Linked DNA regions of Homo sapiens: region 1 is linked to region 2. The links are contacts of gene promoters, found by promoter capture Hi-C in blood cells and fetal thymus (Javierre and others, 2016). All regions are on one chromosome and are shown on one strand. Each heading gives the region's core, a stretch centred on a gene start or on the middle of the fragment in contact. The rest is flanking DNA. Distances are from core to core; before and after follow the strand shown.

Region 1 (6,156 bases), core at 2,957-5,456, 230 kb after region 2:
CCTACACATTAATCTCCATCTCTGAGTATGCTTCCTGGGAATCCAGCTGTGGCAATTAATATGACCATTTTATAGATAAAGAAACTGAATCTTAGAAAATCACTTGTCAAAGGTTAGACAGCCATTTATTAGTGAAGCCAAGACTCAGACACCAAATCTGCTGACCTCCAGCTTCTCCTCCTTTTTCTTTACCTCTCCAAATTACATCCCTCTGTGAAGGCCAAGGTGAAGGCTAAGTCCCTGCTTCTCCCAGAGGTCTCCCAACTTCCCCTTTCTGATCTTAGAGCTCTCATCATCTATTTGGCTCATGGCCATGCTCCTATTTGGGGACTTTTCTTAATTATCACCTCATATTACATAACCACTATGTTGTCATTTAACGTTTTGCATTTGAAGTTTTGTGTTTTCTCTACATTATAATCTCTATGGAGACAAATGTCATTAACTATTCTTCTTGGCATCCCAATAGTTGCCATCCATATGCTGAGCATGCAGTATATCACAGTGCAGAGAAAGAACAGCAAGATTTCCTCTCTCTGGCTGGCTTCTAAGTCTTTGAAACTGAGAAAACACAACATGCTCAAAAGACATGCAGATTTGCAGCCTTGATTTCCTTTTGCCTTTTCTGGAATGGCATAAGGATTCACAATATAAAATATAAAAGGATGGCAGGTTATTCCACTAGAGGAGCAATACCATCCATGGGGGAGTAACCCAAACTGCAGTAGCCCACATGAAAAAGGTGAGCCAGAAAGTACTTGGTCAATTACAGCCAAGCAATAAGGAGAAAAAAAACAACACACTAGGAATAAAATCATTAGAATGCATCTTGGCCAATTAATTTAGCAAAATATTTTCATTTTAATTATTTAAAACATTTCATAATATGCTAGGAAATGGGGTATTGTGTACTTTGCAAAAGTAATGAAGTCTTAGATCAAAAATCTGACACCACATTGTTAACTTTTACGGGTAAAATAAGCAAACCACTTTTCTTCTCTTTAAAGACTATCAACTGGGAAATTAGCAACACCTTCTATATTATCTCCTCCAAGCAAGGAGAGGTGGAGGTAGTTTCCCTCTACAGAGGGAAAAATTAATCCATACTCCCTCACTTTCAATTTCTGGGAATCAGTTCTTGCCATGGTAATTATGTTATTATAAGACCACTCTCAAAAGAAGACATTTATGCAGCCAAAAAAACACATGAAAAAATGCTCATCATCACTGGCCATCAGAGAAATGCAAATCAAAACCACAATGAGATACCATCTCACACCAGTTAGAATGGCAATCATTAAAAAGTCAGGAAACGGCCGGGCGCGGTGGCTCACGCCTGTAATCCCAGCACTTTGGGAGGCCGAGGCGGGTGGATCACGAGGTCAGGAGATCGAGACCATCCTGGCTAACAAGGTGAAACCCCGTCTCTACTAAAAATACAAAAAATTAGCCAGGCGCGGTGGCAGGCGCCTGTAGTCCCAGCTACTCGGGAGGCTGAGGCAGGAGAATGGCGTGAACCCGGGAAGCAGAGCTTGCAGTGAGCCGAGATTGCGCCACTGCAGTCCGCAGTCCGGCCTGGGCGACAGAGCGAGACTCCGTCTCAAAAAAAAAAAAAAAAAAAAAAAAAAAAAAAAGTCAGGAAACAACAGGTGCTGGAGAGGATGTGGAGAAATAGGAACACTTTTACACTGTTGGTGGGACTGTAAACTAGTTCAACCATTGTGGAAGTCAGTGTAGCGATTCCTCAGGGATCTAGAACTAGGAATACCATTTGACCCAGCCATCCCACTACTGGGTATATACCCAAAGGACTATAAATCATGCTGCTATAAAGACACATGCACACGTATGTTTATTGTGGCACTACTCACAATAGCAAAGACTTGGAACCAACCCAAATGTCCAACAATGATAGACTGGATTAAGAAAATGTGGCACATATACACCATGGAATACTATGCAGCCATAAAAAATGATGAGTTCATGTCCTTTGTAGGGACATGGATGAAACTGGAAATCATCATTCTCAGTAAACTATCGCAAGAACAAAAAACCAAACACCGCATATTCTCACTCATAGGTGGGAATTGAACAATGAGATCACATGGACACAGGAAGGGGAATATCACACTCTGGGGACTGTTGTGGGGTGGGGGGAGGGGGGAGGGATAGCATTGGGAGATATACCTAATGCTAGACGATGAGTTAGTGGGTGCAGCGCACCAGCATGGCACATGTATACATATGTAACTAACCTGCACAATGTGCACATGTACCCTAAAACTTAAAGTATAATAATAATAAAAAAAAAAGACCACTCTGGTACAGGTAGGGCTAGAAAACAATAAGTATATAAACATAGTAACAGCTTTAGGCTTGGAAATAATTTTCAGCATTTTTTTCTCCTTTGCTTTCAAACATTAGCATGGATGAGAATGTGCTGTGCTGCAAGAATACTATAAGTGCAAATCAACTGAAAAATAATTCTTGCCAAACTTCCCTAATTATTCGACCAGCACCAATACAGAAAGTGAATTTTAGAGAGAAGTTTCTAAGTTGGAACAGCTTAGTCCCAGGTATTTTGTCACGGCAGCACAAATGGACTAAGACAGTATCACATGACTGGGTCACACACTTGGTCAATATGCTTTAACACTGCACCTTCCTAGGGGGCAGGCAACATGCTACTTACTCCCTCATGCGTTTCATCTTGGTCCTGGCCATCACACTGTTGAAAATTGGTGGTCCTGGGGACATGTCTTCAGCCATGGTGGTGATGGTCTTTGTGTCTGAAAATCAATGCACAGCCCTTATTGACTTCATCAGCAATCCTGCAACTTCAAGGCGATGTTCAAGGGCAATCAGAAAACAGAAGCTAATCCACCTTTGCCACATGGTAATGCTACATTAATTAGAGATGAATTCAATTATAACACGCACATTAAGAAGATTTATTCCAAATGACAAGATTATTTACAGTTTTAATATGCACAAGGTATTCCAGGAGAAAGCCTCTCTCACAAAGGATTGTTTAAACAAAACACCATTATTTAAAAGATGAGCTTTTTATCCTAGAAAACTCAGGGGGAAATGTATCTATAGAAAAGCAAGTGTTCCTGAGGACCCTTTGGCCATTCTCTTTCAGCAGGTGTGGATGTTTGACTAAGTGACTAGGAATTTTTCTAATAAGCTTAGTTTTCCTTTTATCTTAATCTTATACCTGAGCATTAGCTTTTTTTGCAATGGAAAGCAAAATGCTGACCAGAGGTCCTATCTGCAGCTTTAAACTTCAGCAGAATGGAGCAGAAGGCCAAAGTTGTGTTCAGAGGGTAAGAGTTGGTAATGAAAGTTGAGGTGTAATGAAATCTGCTGAGAGAGCTACAGTTTTTAATGAAACATCCTGAAGGCTCTTATAAAACATGTTGAAACTGAGGGAAAGAAATATTCCATCAACTGAAACAACACTACTTTCCATTAAAAAGCTAAAACTGGGTTGGGTGCAGTGGCTCATGCCTGTAATCCCGGCATTTTGGAAGGCTGAGGTGGGCGGATCACCTGAGGTCACGAGTTTGGGACCAGCCTGGCCAACATGGTGAAACCTCGTCTCTACTAAAAATATAAAAATTAGCTGGGTGTGGTGGCACTTGCCTGTAATCCCAGCTACTCTGGAGGCTGAGACAGGAGAATCACTTGAACTTGGGAGGCGGAGGTTGCAATGAGCTCAGATCGCACCACGGCACTCCAGCCTGGGTGAAAGAACAAGGCTCTGTCTCAAAAAAAAAAAAAAAAAAAAAAAAAAAAAAGAAGCTAAAACTGGCCCATTAGCAAGAGCTCAGGGCAATCCATAGAGCTGAATTTACAATTTGGCCCTATGCTGCTCTTTCCTCCCTGGAACTGGGAGCAGAGTACTCCCTGTGCACGTCCTTAGATCTCTTATAAGGTGCTTCACATCCCATCAGTAAAAAACTGTCCACTCCAATGATCATTTATAAATTATATCCATGTAGTTGCTATGTCAGAGAGAAGAGACTCATGTTATGAAATTCCCATTCTTTTCTCAACATATCTCATATAACATGTGCCTGCTTGACTTAGGGACCAAGTAAAGAAGCAAGGTGGAGTCCCCATTTTACATATTAGTAAAACTTTTTCTTCTTCTTTTTTTTGAGACGGAGTTTCGCTCTTGTTGCCCAGGCTGGAATGCAATGGCGTGATCTCGGCTCACCGCAACCTCTGCCTCCCGGGTTCAAGTGATTCTTCTGCCTCAGTCTCCTGAGTAGCTGGGATTACAGGCGTGCGCCACCATGCCTGGCTAATTTTGTATTTTTAGTAGAGACAGGTTATCTCCTGTTGGTCTCCTGTTGGTCAGGCTGGTCTTAAACTCCCGAGCTCAGGTGATCCGCCCACCTCGGCCTCCCAAACTGCTGGAATTACAGGCGTGAGCCACCACACCCGACCTTTTTATTTTTTTGAGATGGAGTTTTGCTCTTGTTGCCCAGGCTGGAGTGCAATAGTGAGATCTCGGCTCACTGCATCCTCCACCTCCTGGGTTCAAGCAATTCTCCTGCCTCAGCCTCCCAAGTAGCTGGGATTACAGGCTCCCGCCACCAAGCCCAGCTAATTTTTTTCTTTTTAGTAGATACAGGGTTTTGCCATGTTGGTCAGGCTAGTCTCGAACTCCTGACCTGAGGTGATCCGCCTGCCTCGGCCTGCCAAAGTGCTGGGATTACAGGCGTGAGCCACCCCGACTGGCTCTATTTTTTAAATTTTAAAAGTTAAATGCAAATTCTAATATGTCTCACATACATCCTCCTTTTGCACTACCTGTTGGGGCATGTATCCCACTTTGAACTTCTTGCTCCTATAGATATAATTGAGATGAATATTCTCCAGCTTAATTCTGTGCCAAAGTCTCTGATCTTTCCTTGGACTAGATCCCTAGTTATGGAAATACTGGATTAACAGGGACAAACCTTGTAAAGGGCATAATACAAATTAACAATGTGTTGCTCATAGTACATTCACCAGTTATGCCTTCATGATAAAGACACAAGTACCAGCAACTGATTGCTCCCATTTCTCTCACTCCTGGAGATTGCCCCTTCCACACCTGGAGAGAAAATTTGCCTCGGCCCTCACTGCAACTGGACAGCAGCTTTCTGTCAGCTCCAACCTTCCCACTAACTCTGGCCAGGACAGATACTTTTCCCCAGGAAGCTTGGGGAGTGGGCAAGAGGAAGGCATAGGGGTTTATTTCATATTCCTGTTGGTTGCTTTTTACAATAATCTTTCCTAGAACCTAAAAAGTTACTAAAACAACACCAACCATACCATGCTAAGTAACTCACATGCAAGCTCAAAAATCAGTTCCGCCAAGAATAAAAATAAGGTGCTCCTTTCCCATCTTTTCCAGAGCTGGCAAGTTTTGAAGACTTATGCAAATAAAGGTCAAAGCAATTTCCAGGAGAGCTGCAGTTTATTTTAAGCTGGCTACAGTTTCCCTCAATAAGGCACTCAGTCTGCTAGGAAAGATGCTAAGCCTTAAGCCCAAGGGTAGAAAACAGGGCAAGTATAATTTCGAGTAACAGGGTTGGCAAAGCTTGGTGCTCAGAGCAATTCCTTTTTCAGTGTTTCTTATTGGCCAACTTTCTTTCCCTCTGCCTCCCATCTTCCAACATGAATAGTAGTTGCTTTATGTCAAAGAAAAGGACAATTCATTTAACAATCATAATAAAAATAATTGGGGCAAGAACATAGATGTCATCCAATAGGTGACTGAATCCCAGAGTGTGTTTTAGACCACTGCTTCTCAAACTTTAATGTCATACAAATCATCCAGGGATCTTGTTAAAATGCAGATTCTTCTTTAGTAGGTTTGGGTAGGGCTTGGGATTCTACGTTTCCATATGTTCCCAGGTGATACCAATGCTGCTGGTCCTGCAACCACACTTTGAGTAGTAAGGCTCTAGACAGGCCAGCTACATAATTTGTGGGGCCCAGTGCTAAATGACAACGCAGAAATCCTTGTTCAAGAAACAAGAGAAAAGCTGTTTTTTGGGGGGTCTGTATTTGTCTGTGGACCTGTCATTGTGCTTTTTGTTGGGTATTTAATGTCATTCTCCCTCAGGAACTAGGGCAGATACTCTGCAGGGGAGT
Region 2 (6,072 bases), core at 3,573-6,072:
AAAAGAAAAAAAAAAAAGAAAGAATAATATAACTACTGTTTTCTACCTTCCAGAAGGACTTTCACTTAGAAGACTAGAAGGGACCTCAGCTGGACAGATGAACAGGCAGAGAGGTGAAGTGATTTACTCTGTGTCGCACTGCTAGTTAAGTTTAGACCTGAGATTGAATCCCAAGTCTCTTGGCTCTGAGTTCACAGCCATTTTTAGAATGCTGCTACCCAAAATGTGGTCAGCACTGACATCATCTTGAGCTTCTTAGAAATGCAGACTCTCAGATCCCACCCTAGACCTAATGAATCAGGTTCCGCATTTTAGCAAGATTCCCAGGTAAATCTTGTACACATTCAGGGTTGAGAATCACAGGCTTTCAACATCACGTGGGCTCTGAAAAGCCTCCAATGAGGTTGCATAGGAATTGAATGGGTGAATATCTCAAGCAGTTCGGCCTCATCATTCTCTCTTGAGACCGACGGATTCTGATCTAGACTGATGAGACGCCTAAAGATGCAGGCTTAGCACTATCATCATCAATCTTTGTTGGTCTGGGGCATCCTCTGGATGCTGAGCTGAGTGTTCCAATAATGTGCTATGCAGCTTTCTCTTCTAAGGACAGAGGCAGTACAGCAGATCAGTTAAGCACTTGGACTCTAGACAGCCTGCCTGGCCTCAACTCCTGTCTCCACCACTTACTTAACAAATGTAAAGTTTGTGCACTTGAATGACCTGCTCATCGTCTCTGTGCCTCAGTTTCCATATTTGTAAAATGGGGTTGAGACTAACAGTACCCACTTCACAGGTGAGGATTAAATAAGTTAATATATGGAAAGCACATAGATCAGTGTCTGCCACTTAGCAAAAGCAATGCAAATGTTAGTTATTTATCATTTTTCAGGGAATCCCTAGGCCTCCTCTAAGTGGAATCAAAATCCTAAATGAACTCAGTCTTTAGAATTTCTCCAGATTCTGTATCTGTAAGGCTCAGAGGGGTAATCCTGATTATGATTCTAGGTGGCTAGAGTATCCACTGGTTTGGAGCTATACTCTGGCCATCAAAACTACACTGGCATTGGGAGGAAGACCAGGGAGGAAGAGATGTCCTTTTGAAAAGCATTGGTTCCCTGGCATGTGATGCTACATTGTCTGTTGCTAATATTTTTTCTAAGTAATCAAAGAACTTTAAAAAATGGACATTGGTATAATTACATTAAGTTTTGAAACCTTAAACCCAGATTACTACATGGCCATACTGCTTTTTTCTATTTTTTTAAGGCTTTCTTCAAGCCAAATGAATTTTAATTCTGATCATCTCTTGGAACCCTAAAGTCTGTGGGCTTACTTGGGAATTTACAAATAAAAATTATGTTTTAAAAGCAATATATTAAAGTTACAAATTGTGATTTGGCCTTACTGAAGGACATTGAAGCAGAATTCATTCTCTTACTGAATGAGTATCTGTGGATTTTGCAATACAGCCTTTCAAATTTTCTATTTCAGCCAGCAATGAAATCTTAAAGTTCAAAAATCTCTTAAAGTTTATTTTATCTATATCCCCATTGAATGCTTGACTCACTTTCATAACATCTTTACTGATTTTAAAATATGCTAGATTCTCACAACTTGAGAAAAATGGAGAAAAAAAAGGATAACTTAGTAAATCCAAACTCATTGTTTAAAAGATTTCTAATTTCAAATATAAGGTATGTTATAAACTAAGAGACAGCATAAATGAATACTAAAGTGGAAATTACCCAACACAAAATTTACCATCTTGCAATAATCCAACTATACAGGATATATCACAAACATTATAAGAGCTAATGGTAGAGCCTAATGGCAGGAACACATATAAAAGATTATTTCCAGTGAACTCTTGCTTTGAAATCTGCTCCTTCTATGATGATTCTCTTGTATTGAACATGGCTTTAGTAATTCAAAAATGAATCTATTCCTAATGTTTTATTTAATAAGAGAAGGTTTATGAGATCATCTGTTGGTCTGAATTAGCGGAGTAAGAGTTATAGAACTGTACCACTAAAAAGAGAAAGTGCAAGTTATCTTCGTTCCAATAAGGAATTGAAATCTTAGAGAGGCAAAATGGCATTACAGTTTCAGGGTCTAAGGCAGTGTCTGAAGGATGACATCAGAAATAACAGGAAGCTCTAGGTCAGTGCCTGACTGCCCTAGAAAAGCCTAGGCTGGGTCCCTTGACAACTGGGCCTAGTAGCTGTCAGCAGCATATTACAGTGACTAAATCAAGTATGACACCACTCAGCCCTGGCTGGCAATCAGGAGACACATTTTTTACGACAGCAGACAAACCATGTTTTACTTTGATTCAGTTCAGCGGTGGTGCCTGCTGTCAAGGTCCTCCTTATGGACTAGGAGATATTTGGTACTATGGGAAAAGGTTAGACCAAATGGCTACCTCTTCAATCCTCACTGACCACTGCGTGTGATTACTTACCGATTTTCCTCTTTAGCCTTAAAGAAATTCCAAGGCAAGAGTAGTGACATATTTGTCATAGAGAGCCAAAGAAACAAAATGTCTAAAAGCATAAGCTCTATCTATGGTCACAGTCTTTGGCTCTACCAGTTAATAGCTGGGTGATTTTATTTAAGTTATGTAATCTCTGTATGCCTATTTTCTTAACTGTAAGATCCAGATAATTATACTATTGTCACAGCAGATTGTCATAACAATCAAGTGAGAAAATACACTGAGAGAGTAAAAATGAATACTATTAGTAACTGGACTGCAGTGTTTATAGCAGAACATCAATACAATATTTCTTTTTTTTTTTTTTGAGACGGAGTCTTGCTCTGTCACCCAGGCTGGAGTGCAGTGGCTCAATCTCGCTCACTGCAAGCTGCGCCTCCCAGGTTCACACCATTCTCCTGCCTCAGCCTCCTGAGTAGCTGGGACTACAGGCACCCGCCACTACGCCCGGCTAATTTTTTTTTGTATTTTTAGTAGAGAAGGGGTTTCACCATGTCAGCCAGGATGGTCTCAATCTCCTGACCTCGTGATCCACCCGCCTTGGCATCCCAAAGTGCTGAGCCACCACGCCCAGCCCATCATTACAATATTTCTTACAGACCGTACTGTAGGCCACACCACTGCAGCAAAATGACTAACAGTTCCTTATTCTGAGTGATTCCTGCTTTCTTATGAACATCATGCCCACTTCCTCTCTGTTCTTCCTGTCTCTAGAACAAAGACTATCAAGATATCCAATTGCTGAACTGTCCTTTCTTCTTGACAGCACCCATTCTAAAACAAGTTCCTGCTTCTCTGATGCCACTTTAAAATCACTCAGCCTTAAGTCCAAATTTCATTTCAAGCCCCTCCCAGGTCACTCTTTTGGAAACATCCTCAGACATATGCTGTCTTTTGCTGCATCAAGCTAATTAAACTTGACTTTGTATGAGTTCACGTTTTCTTCTAGTAGCCTTGGCTTATGGGCTTCCACAATGCTGAGCACATACTCTAGCACACTATATGGATAAGAAATGTTAGTTATTGGCAGTAGTACAGAAATCTTCTTATTCTCAACTTCTTGCATGTAGCACACCTCAAAACATGTTTGTTCAATGAAGAGCCATCCTTAAGTATCTGGGAAGCCAGGCAGCATGGCTAGAATGAAGAGATGTAGTTTTTCCTTCAAGGTCCAAAGTATTATTGAAAAGTGTCTAAGGTAACTGCAACAGCAATGAGTGGAATGAATGGACAAGCAAAGCAAAGATTTTTTAGCCCACTAAAGTCCAAGTAATGGCCAGGAATTGACCATTGTCTGGACCTGTTAAACCAAGATAGCCAGATCTCTAGTAAAAAGAGAAGGTTGAAATAGCTACACTTTAAAGTTCTTATTTCCAAATTTCTACAAACAGTAATCTGACAAATAAGGGAATTAGTAGAAGAATAAATGTCCTAGTCACATACATGGTTATTAGGCTAGATCTGGAACCCAAGACAGGGGATTTTTTGTGCAGGTGTATTAGCTATCTATTATTGCATAACAAATTACCCTAAAGCTTAATGACTCAAAAAAACGGTAATCATTTATTTTCTCTGGCAATTTCTCCTAGTCAGTAATTCATGAGCGGCCTGGCTGGGAGATTCAGGCTTAACGTCTCCATGAGTTGCAGCCGAGGACTGGTGGATCCACTTCCTAGGTGGCTCAGTCATGACTGGCTAGTTGATTCCTCTTTATATGTTCCTCCCTGCAGAGCTGTTTGAGTGTCTGCAGGAAATGAAGGCTAGCTTTCTCCACAGGGAGCAATCCAAGAGACAAAAACTGAAGTAACAATATGTTTTATGATCCAGCCCTAGAAGGCATACATCATTTCTATGGGTGTAGTCTATTGATAACACATGCCAACCCTGTTTCAGTGCCAACTCTGCTCCTCTGCCAGATGTGTTGTTTTGGACCAGCACCTAAATTCTGAGTCAGTTTCCTCATTTATAATAGAAAAATAAATACTTCCTTTCAGGACCGTTTTTTATGATTAACAAATATAGGATTATGAAGCGCTGCTTAGCATAATGCATTGCCTCACAACGGGCACTATTTAGAAGTGTCTTCATTTTCCTTAGCGTCCTCAGGAAGTCTGTCCTTATTCTTCTAAAGTTTAAACTCTGAACATCCCTTTTATTTTACCCCTGGAGAGGCGAGTCAGTCCCTTCCCACCCCTACCTACTCCAACTCACATCCAAAGTAGGACAACGGTGGAAGCAGAACTATAGTTTCCGGGGAGCGACTCGAGTGCCCGGAGTTCATTGTAAAACGCACCGGAAGTGGGTCCGGCGGCTTTCTTTCCGTCGCAGAGAGCATCGGCCGGCGACCGTTCCGGCGGCCATTGCGAAAACTTCCCCACGGCTACTGCGTCCACGTGGCGGTGGCGTGGGGACTCCCTGAAAGCAGAGCGGCAGGGCGCCCGGAAGTCGTGAGTCGAGTCTTCCCGGGCTAATCCATGCCGGGTTGGAGGCTGCTGACGCAGGTCGGCGCCCAGGTGCTGGGTCGACTCGGGGACGGCCTGGGTGCTGCCCTGGGCCCGGGGAACAGGTAGGAAGGTGTGAGGGTGTCCTACCTGCACAGTTGCGTCCTGAAGCAGTGGAATGGCCTGGTGCAGTTGGGCCTCCCCTGGGTGGAGGAGGAAGGGGCTCTGTTGAGACGTGGGACACAGAAGAATAAGGGCCGTTAACCTAAGGAAGCACGTTCTAAGGGGATTGAAGTGGTGATTTTTAAAAAACGCTTATGAGCCAGCCACTAGCAGCGAACGCTATTAACAGCAATCATATCTTACAATTAGTGAGCGTTTGCCAGGTACTAAGCGCTCTGCTAAGTGTATTAGGTGCCTTATGTAGCCTCACGGGAGCAAACTGCTATCATAAGGTTTACAGATAAAACTGAAGGTTAGGGAGGTGAGTTAATTTGCCCAAAGTCACTCAACTAATAAGTGGAAAATTAGGAATCTAGCCTGAATTTATCTGACTACAAAAGGAGAGTAGACTGCAGAAAGCTTTACTTCTGTTCTGACCCTCCATGCAAGAATTACACCCCTTCTTCCTGACCTCCGCCCACTAAGGTCTTTCTTGGTATGTTCACCTGTTCAGAGGTCATGCCTTTTGTGGATCTTTTAACTTTGCACACCCAGTTTCTTCACTTCTCTGAACCTAGGCCATGTCATTGCAGGGAGGAGGTGAGCTTGTTAGACAAAGATCAACATGCCACCTTCTGCCACCTCCACTGAATGTAAAACTATTAAGGTACACTTCCAAATGGGTTAGTGGCTTTTCATGTCTATAGGTAGGACTGTTTTTTGGGGAATATGTTTATCTGCGAGGAGAAGATGAATTTTTTTCTCCAGGGTAACGACTAACAGTTTAAATGTGAGCCTTATCCGAAGGAATGTGGGGAGTGAGGAAAAGGTTGGAGACCTGAAAAAAAGGTATACAGAATCCAAGCCCTTTCCCAAGGCCCTGACTACACTTTCCAATTTGTGACTTCCCTTTTCTATATTAAGTGGAGGAAGTTTTTAAATTGTGGTTTGGTTTTATTTATTTTTTCTTTT

Evidence for each region. Contacts are between HindIII fragments. The CHiCAGO score rates a contact against its expected background, and 5 or more counts as called.
Region 1: a contact is called between a fragment that was not itself captured here and the fragment with the promoter of MRPL3 in region 2, in 1 of 17 cell types (neutrophils). The highest score is 7.3, in neutrophils.

What each region holds. Positions count from the first base shown.
Region 1 is chr3:131,270,111-131,276,266 of GRCh38, reverse strand. NEK11 (NIMA related kinase 11) reads right to left here. Exons shown (of 18, transcript NM_024800.5): 17 at 2,693-2,789. Among named protein-coding and RNA genes, the nearest start is that of NUDT16-DT, 110 kb to the left of the region's middle. The HindIII fragment of the contact is 2,027 bases long and covers 3,193-5,219 here.
Region 2 is chr3:131,501,721-131,507,792 of GRCh38, reverse strand. It overlaps MRPL3 (mitochondrial ribosomal protein L3), which reads left to right and starts at 4,822. Exons shown (of 10, transcript NM_007208.4): 1 at 4,822-5,063. The coding sequence starts at 4,972. LOC105374114 (a long non-coding RNA gene) reads right to left here and starts at 5,194. Exons shown (of 3, transcript NR_189111.1): 1 at 5,089-5,194. RefSeq lists enhancers at 4,924-4,993, 4,500-5,186. The HindIII fragment of the contact is 1,488 bases long and covers 4,035-5,522 here.